Linked DNA regions of Homo sapiens: regions 1 and 2 are each linked to region 3. The links are contacts of gene promoters, found by promoter capture Hi-C in human tissues and cell types (Jung and others, 2019). All regions are on one chromosome and are shown on one strand. Each heading gives the region's core, a stretch centred on a gene start or on the middle of the fragment in contact. The rest is flanking DNA. Distances are from core to core; before and after follow the strand shown.

What was found. The method cuts DNA at HindIII sites, captures the fragments that hold promoters and counts their contacts. A contact is called where the count stands out against the background at its distance.
Region 1: a fragment that was not itself captured here is called in contact with the fragment with the promoter of MLANA in region 3 in 2 of the 25 tissues and cell types used here (dorsolateral prefrontal cortex and spleen).
Region 2: a contact is called between a fragment that was not itself captured here and the fragment with the promoter of MLANA in region 3, in 1 of the 25 tissues and cell types used here (heart left ventricle).

What each region holds. Positions count from the first base shown.
Region 1 is chr9:6,436,706-6,439,405 of GRCh38, reverse strand. The region is part of intron 3 of UHRF2 (ubiquitin like with PHD and ring finger domains 2); the gene reads right to left. Among named protein-coding and RNA genes, the nearest start is that of UHRF2, 25 kb to the right of the region's middle. The HindIII fragment of the contact is 5,119 bases long and covers 1-2,700 here.
Region 2 is chr9:6,654,988-6,657,687 of GRCh38, reverse strand. No RefSeq gene overlaps it. Among named protein-coding and RNA genes, the nearest start is that of GLDC, 11 kb to the right of the region's middle. RefSeq lists enhancers at 572-671, 606-1,112. The HindIII fragment of the contact is 4,863 bases long and covers 1-2,700 here.
Region 3 is chr9:5,889,537-5,892,236 of GRCh38, reverse strand. It overlaps MLANA (melan-A), which reads right to left and starts at 1,348. Exons shown (of 5, transcript NM_005511.2): 1 at 1,301-1,348. It overlaps LOC124902341 (small nucleolar RNA U13), which reads right to left and starts at 2,087; the gene lies at 1,981-2,087. It also overlaps a transcript of BRD10 not described here. The HindIII fragment of the contact is 14,558 bases long and covers 1-2,700 here.

The DNA of each region.
Region 1 (2,700 bases), core at 184-2,683, 550 kb before region 3:
GGTCAGGAGTTCAAGACCAACCTGGCCAACATGGCGAAACTCCATCTCTACTAAACACAAAAATTAGCCGGGCGTGGTGGTGCACATCTGTGTCTCAGGAGGCTGAGACAGGAGAATCGTTTGAACCCGGGAGACAGAAGTTGCAGTGAGTCAAGATCACACCACGGCACTCCAGCCCAAGCCATAGAGCAGGGCTGTCTCAAAGAAACAAACAAAAAACAATTCAGCCTATGTTCACCAAGAAATCTATAGAAAAGGACCATTTACAAGCAACTAGTAAAACTCAAATTTTAAAACATTTCAAATCTCTTAACATAACCTGTTTTTCATAAACTTAGTGTTTGTATCTGTAATTTTTGAAGGAATAGTGGAGATAAATTAGGAAACAAATTATTTCAGTTATATTTTAGAATTACATCTTCTACTATATCTTAAATTTTTTTGGTTTGGTGTTTGAAACTCCTCTACCTAAGAAGAAACATCATAAATCTATAATGGCTATCATTCCTCATAGACTAAAGATTGTTTTTAACTCTGCTCTGACTGGAGTAGAAGTTGAAAATGCAAGAGAATAGCTATTTATCTTGGCCTAATTCAGCAACGAATTCTGTTTTAATGAAGCTTCATTTCAAAGACTGATAATCTGGTCTAGTAATCTATTAGATACGTAGATTACTATAAAAAACAGCTTTTAAACAGCTCCATTTTAACTGACAAACATTGCATACCCCAGAATAATTCCAGAGGCAGGTTTCTTTCATCTCATGTACAATACATCTCCCTGCTTTTGCTAAATGACAGCTTGTTCAAACTACACTGCTACACTCAAGAGGTTTGCAGACACAATTGTGCACAGGTTTGCCAAATAATGCTTATCACTCTAGGAGAAAAATGAAAAAGTAGTTCTTTGAGAGAAATACCATAAAGCCATAAATGCAATGGGATGGTAACCTATAAGCACTTAAAGCCTATTTAGTTAAAGTACAAAAATGTGACTTTGAGAGACACTGGCTTAGAGGTAAAAATGACATGCTGTCATTACAGGTCATCTAATACAATTACTAACTTCATAGATTCTCTTTGCAGTGCATCATCTCCAATAAGTCTTCCCATCTATGGTTGAAAATGGCCAATGCTAGTTTACTGGCTACTTCTCAAGGCAGACCATTCTCCATCTTCAGAGATATTTGACTGGTAGGAAGTTTAGGTTATCCTGAAACTTCCCTTCTGTGTTATACAGAAATCTCTTCTAAGAGCTTTTACAATATGGGAACAATCATAATCCAGGTCTTTCAAGCTAAGTATTTAGTTTTTTTGGCTACTCTTCACTGTAGTTTTACATTTTGAGTCCTACTCTGAACATGCACCAGGTCCTGATGGTATTGTTTTTAAGGCATGAGAGCTGGAGGACAATATTCCTAGTAGGGAATAGCCAGTCCAGTACAACAGCAGCATCATCTGGTTTGTACTAGGTATCTTACTTCTAATGAAACTAGCCGGGTGCGGTGGCTCACACCTGTAATCTCGCACTCTGGGAGGCTAAGGTGGGTGTTTGAGATCAGGAATTCAAGACCACCTTGGCCAACGTGGTGAAACCCAGTCTCAACTAAAAATACAAACATTAGCCAGGTGTGGTGGTGCATGCCTATAATCCTAGCTTCTTGGGAGGCTGAGGCACGAGAATTACTTGAAACCAGGAAGTGGAGGTTGCAGTGACCTGAGATCGCACCACTGCACTCCAGCCTGGGCCACAGTGCAAGACTCTGTCTCAAAAATAAATAAATAAAATAAAGCAAAACAGATTTACAGCATAACTATATGACAACCACATTCTATCGACTCACTTGGAGCTTACTACTCAATAAAAAAATCTGGCCAGGTGCAGTGACTCATACCTGTAATCCCAGCACTTTGGGAGGTTGAGGTAGGTGGATCACCTGAGGTCCAGAGTTCAAGACCAGCCTGACCAACACGGTGAAACCCCGTATCTACTAAAGATACAAAAGTTAGCCAGGCGTGGTGGCAGGCACCTGTCATCCCAGGTACTCATGAGGCTGAGGCAGGAGAATCGCTTGAACCTGCAAGGCAGAGGTTGCAGCGAGCCGAGATCGTGCCACTGCACTCCAGACTGAGCAACAGAACGAGACTCTGTCTAAAAAATAATAATAATAAAATAAAAAATCTGCTTATTACTACTGTTAGGCTATACCAGCTTTCTTCAATGCATCCTCCATTCAAAGAAGAACTTGTTTGATGACTTACTGAAATCAACATGTACTTCATTATATTTTATAATTCATTTTTCTAATGATCACAAAGAATGAAACTTTAACATGCTTTGTATCACAACCATATCGGGCTCATAATGATTCTTTTATCCAGGAGCTTATTTATGTTATACATCTCATATTTTATATAGTCCTTTCCTCTTTTTAAAGAGGTGACATTTACCTGTTACTAAGCTTCTGTTATCTTTCATTTTTCAAAGAAAGTTCAGCTATCGTATCTTTAAGTTGCCAGCATTGAAACATTTAATTCCATCACGTAAAATTATTTAGGGCAGGTAATTTTAGTCTTTTCACACATGTTGGATTTAGATTCCCCTTTACTTAACATTCATTCTAACTGACAAAAAAAGTTGCCAAATATATGCTAAGGTACTGTGTTTTGTGCTCTAAGATACACCAAACTGAAGGGTAG
Region 2 (2,700 bases), core at 144-2,643, 770 kb before region 3:
TTTGAGACACAGTCTTGCTCTATCACCCAGGCTGGAGTGCAATGGTGCGATCTCAGCTCACTGCAACCTTCGCCTCCAGGTTCAAGTGATTCTTCTGCCTCAGCCTCCTGAGTAGTTTGGATTACAGATGCCCACCACCATGCCCGGCTAGTTTTTGTATTTTTAGTAGAGACGGGGGTTTCACCATGTTGGTCAGGCTGGTCTCGAACTCCAAGCCTCAGGTAATCTGCCCGCCTTGGCCTCCCAAAGTGCTGGGATCACAGACATGAGCCACCAGGCCTGGGGGTAAAAAATTTAAATATAAATAAAGTTTCAAGGAAAAGAGCTAGAACCAAAAAAAGAGTATTTTCTATTGGATCTATAGAAAGAGCAGTACCTATTATTTATGCGTGAAACTTACAATTTGAATGAGACAGTTCAGAGCCATGGGGTTGTGTTGAGTCACCGGCCAGCTGTACATTAAAATCCTGATACACACACACACAAACACACAAAGTAATAGCCAGGTGTGGAAGCAAATGCTCTATGCACATTGCCCGTGTGTCCTTAACAGTAAATTAGTGGCCTCTGGGCTTTGAATCAGTCTTTGGCTTTCTGTCCTTTCACAATCCTGTGCTGGTCAATGAGATACTTGAAGGCAGGTCCTCCTCTAGTGCATTTTCTCTACCACCTGTGACCACAGTTATCTTTTCGAATCTGCCTTTCCTCTTTAATTGTAATAAACGAAGAAGTATCTACTTCATAAATTTGCTCTTCGATAAATCCAAGGACTCTAGCTGGACACTCACAGGGCCAGTTAAGAGCTGAGTGGATTTTCTCTTTAAAGGAAGTCATACTGAGTTGTTAATGAGGCTTGGCATGGCAGTAATTGCTTTCAAAGGAGAAACTAGTTAACACAAATGTATCTTTAATTAGCTTATAGTGGGAAGTGATATTTTTGGACAGGGCCCCTGTATCCCTCCATTCCCTCCTTCCCCACTTCACACTTAGCCAGCCAGGAAAGAATATTAAGGTACCAACCTTGCATCTAAATCCTTTATAATTCTGCTTCTCTTGGGAAAGAAAGTATCACCTGGGAGCTAGTCCTGCTTGGCTGTTTTATTAGGAATCCAGAATCTGCATATGTCATATCTCATCTTTAGTAAAAGAATCTGAGAGGTCACAGCATGGCATTAAACCTAGTGCAATAACATTGACATTCATATAGAAACTTCACTTCTGGCTGGGTGCGGTGGCTCACGCCTGTAATCCCAACACTCTGGGAGGCTGAAGCAGGCAGATCACTTGAGGTCAGGAGTTTGAGACCAGCCTGGCCAACATGCTGAAACCCTGTCTCTACTAAAAATACAAAAATAAGGCCGGATGCAGTGGCTCACACCTGTAATCCCAGCACTTAAAGGAGGCCGAGGCTGGCGGATCACCTGAGGTTGGGAGTTCGAGACCAGCCTGACTAACATGGAGAAACCCCGTCTCTACTAAAAATACAAAATTAGCTGGGCGTGGTGGCACATGCCTGTAATCCCAGCCACTTTAGGAGGCCCAGGTGGGCAGACTGCTTGAGCCCAGGAGTTCAAGACCAGCCTCCGTCTTGCTCCATCACTAGGCTAAAGTGCAGTAGTGTGATTGTGGCTCAAGCAATCCTCCCACCTCAGCCTCTCCAGTTTCAGGGACCACAGGCACATGCCACCACACCTGACTAGTTTTCGCCTTTTTCATCCATGTCTCTGCAAGGACATGAACTCATTCTTTTTTATGGCTGCATAATATTCCATGGTGTACATATTATTAAGTCAAGAACTTTCACCTTTTCACTTAAAGGAAGTGCTTTACAGCTTCTCTGTGGCATATCCAAATTGCCAGCATCACTATTCTGAAATTTTGGGCCATTATTAAGTAAAACACAACACTGCAATATCCTGATGGTCAATCTGAGAATGGGACAACTGAGAAAGCTACGAAGTGACTGAGGGTGCACAGCATAAACAGCATGGATACACTGGACGAAGGGATGAATCACATCCCAGGCGCGATGGGGCAGGACAGTGTGAGATTTTGTCATGCTCCTTGGAACAGCATGTAGCTTAAAACTTATGAACTGTTGGCTGGGCACGGTGGCTCATGCCTGTAATCCCAGCACTTTGGGAGGCTGAGTCGGGTGGATCACCTGAGGTCAGGAGTTCGAGACCAGCCTGACCAACATGGAGAAGCCCTGTTTCTACTAAAAATACAAAATTAGCCGGGCATGGTGGTGCATGCCTGTAATCCCAGCTACTCAGAAGGCTGAGGCAGGAGAATCGCTTGACTCCGGGAGGCGGAGGTTGTGGTGAGCTGAGATCGCGCCACTGTACTACAGCCTGGGCAACAAGAGTGAAACTGTGTCAAAAAACAAAAAAACAAAAAAAAACCCAACAACTTATGAACTGTTTATTTCTGGAATTTTCCATTTATGGTTTCAGAAGGTGGTTAACTGCAGGTAACTGAAACCATGAAAAGCGAAACCACAAATAAGGGGGTCTACGGTACTCTTCCTCAGGGGCAGTCTGTGTATTGCAGCACCTTCAGTTGTTACTATGAAAGCCCTGCTGGTGCTGTAGTTAAGTTTTGGAAACAGGGTGTGTTCTATAATGTTCCAATTAAATACTGGTGTTTTCACAGCCCTCTGTCTTGGGCTATGAACTTCACAATTGTTTTTCCAGTGAT
Region 3 (2,700 bases), core at 99-2,598:
AATTAAGTTCAAAGAAGAAACTACAAACAAAAGCAAAAAAGACTTGCAAGTTGAGTTATTATTTGGTGAAAAAATATTCCTCATTTGCCTTCAATTTGACTCTGCACCATAAACTTCTAGAGAAACAAACAAAATGCATTTTCACTGATTCTCCACCTTCCCTGGCCCAGGGCTGTGGCTAACAAAATTAGAGGAGTTATTTTTCTCCAAAGTTATTGTTGGATATCAATCCCACAGACAAACAGAGGCTATGATACATAACGTGTGTTTCCCAGAGCACCCGTTGCCTGTGCCTCGCGAGGGTGCATGAGGTTGAGCACTGAGCACAACATCTTCCAGCCCAGCTTTTCAGCAAAGGAAACCACCCCACACAGGGGCTTCAGCCTGTCCCCAGGCACTCCACCCAAAACAAGCCGAGGAAGCCCAGGACCTGACTTTATCTAACAATGTGTTTCCCTTCCTACTTAAGTCAATTTCTGCTTCTCTCTGGTTCAAGTCCCTTGGCTAGGATTCTTTTTTTTTCTAACTATAACACATACAAATGAACAACAAAAAATATCCATAAACTGCAGTGGCCGTAATTCAAGTACGCTCATTAAAAACCAATAATGGAAGCTCCTTTCCTTATTATTGTGTATTTTTCTGCTCTCTTACTGTCCTCATGAATTTCAAAGGTGTGATCCCCATAGAATTATATTAATGAGCCCCAGTTTAAAACAACAGGGAGAGGTGAGACAGAAGAGTGGGGATTTCGACACATGACCCCTTTCCACTGGGACATTTTATGTGTAATTTGCCCTTCCCAGTTGTAAAAAAGAAATGAAAGTCAAACTCACCAGTCCTCTCAAGTGAATAATATAGGACTGAACCCTGTGTTCAAAATGACAGAATGGAATCTTAATTCTTCATTAAATTGTTTTAATACATCCCATACCTCAAACTCAGAGCCTTGGCAAATGGTGCAGCAACAGCAAATGCGCCTCTTACTACTCAGACCAGGAGAAGTGGTTCTTTAAGTGACAGGAGAACACATCTACCTCAGGGAGGCTGCTTCTCCCCAGCAAGATGCCATCCTGAATAATTGCTTTTCTTCTTGGTAGTGTTGGAGGACTGAGAGAGGATTCAGGAGGAGGCTTTGTGAGCCCTCTGAGGTTGGAGACTGACAAACGTTGCGGAGAAATTCTGTTGATGTCACACATCAGCGGGGCAATGAGGGTAGGCAGAGGACTTAGCCAGAATTTCCCAAATCCTATTCTGGGAGAAGAGGACTATGATTATGGCGAGAAGGCAACGCTCTTACCTTCCTTAATGAGAGTCCTCTGTCTGCTGGCTGGCCGCGTGTATGAAGACTGCTTCTCTGGCTCTTAATCGTTTTGACTTATTTTTTTTCCTGGTTTTGAGTCCCATGATAGTCACGGGTTTAGATTTCTGACGGGGTCGTCTGTAATTGCTAAATTGGCATGAAAGAAACCAACTTTATTCCTTCCTTCAAAAAGTCACAGCTGACTGTGGCCTCTGTTTTCCCCAGTCCCAGTGCTCTATCCTAGGGAAGCCATTTATTTTAAATGTTGGTCCCTCCTCCATAGGATTGCCATGTCACATAAAATATGACATGAGCCTAGTTATAATGATTTAAAATTCATGGTCCGACACCACAATTACTTTTGCACCAACCTAATTGATGTCTAAGTAGGTCATATTCTACCTGCAAAAAGAAAATTTCATCTATCCCTTTCACATAGATGGAAACCCACTATCTCCAGTGGACAGTTAACACCAAAGGCATCACAGAGAACTCATGGAGCTCAGCTGAGGAGGATGCCCAGTTAAATTTGAACTTCAGATAAACAATGAACAGTTTCTTAATACAACTATGTCCCATACAATATTTTTAGGATAAATATGTCCACATATTCTATGGGACATATACACTAAAAGAGTTATTTTTTGTTTATCTGAAATCCACATTTGTTTTTCTCATGTCAGATAGGTAAGGTGCCCATGTCATTGTAACAAGGTTTGAGGGAGGCATATCTCACACGTGAACATGGAAACCCAATCATCACGCTTATGACCCACAAAAGGATCTGAAATCCAAACTAAACTGGGTTCCCTATTCCCTCCCTCATCTCCATCTCAAAGGGTTGAAGAGTCTTTAGGCACAGGTCTGGAGAGCATCTAGTCCCAGACTCTCATAATCAAGAAAAGGAAATAGAAAAATCCCTGAAACCTCCTCAGCTGAGCTCCATGAGTTCTCTGTGATGCCTTTGGTGTTAACTGTCCACTGGAGATAGTGGGTTTCCATCTATGTGAAAGGGATAGATGAAATTTTCTTTTTGCAGGTAGAATATGACCTACTTAGACATCAATTAGGTTGGTGCAAAAGTAATTGCGGTGTCGGACCATGAATTTTAAATCATTATAACTAGGCTCAAACACATTTTTTTTTTCTGAGATGGAGACTCACTCTGTCGCCCAGGCTGGAGTGCAGTGGCAGGATCTCAGCTCACTACAACCTCTGCCTCCCAGGTTCAAGCAATTCTCCTGCCTCAGCCTCCTGAGTAGCTGGGACTACAGGTGCACGCCACCACACCTGGCAAATTTTTGTATTTTTAGTAGAGACAGGGTTTCACCATGTTGGCCAGGATGGTCTCGATCTCCTGACCTCATGATCCACCTGCCTCAGCCTCCCAAAGTGCT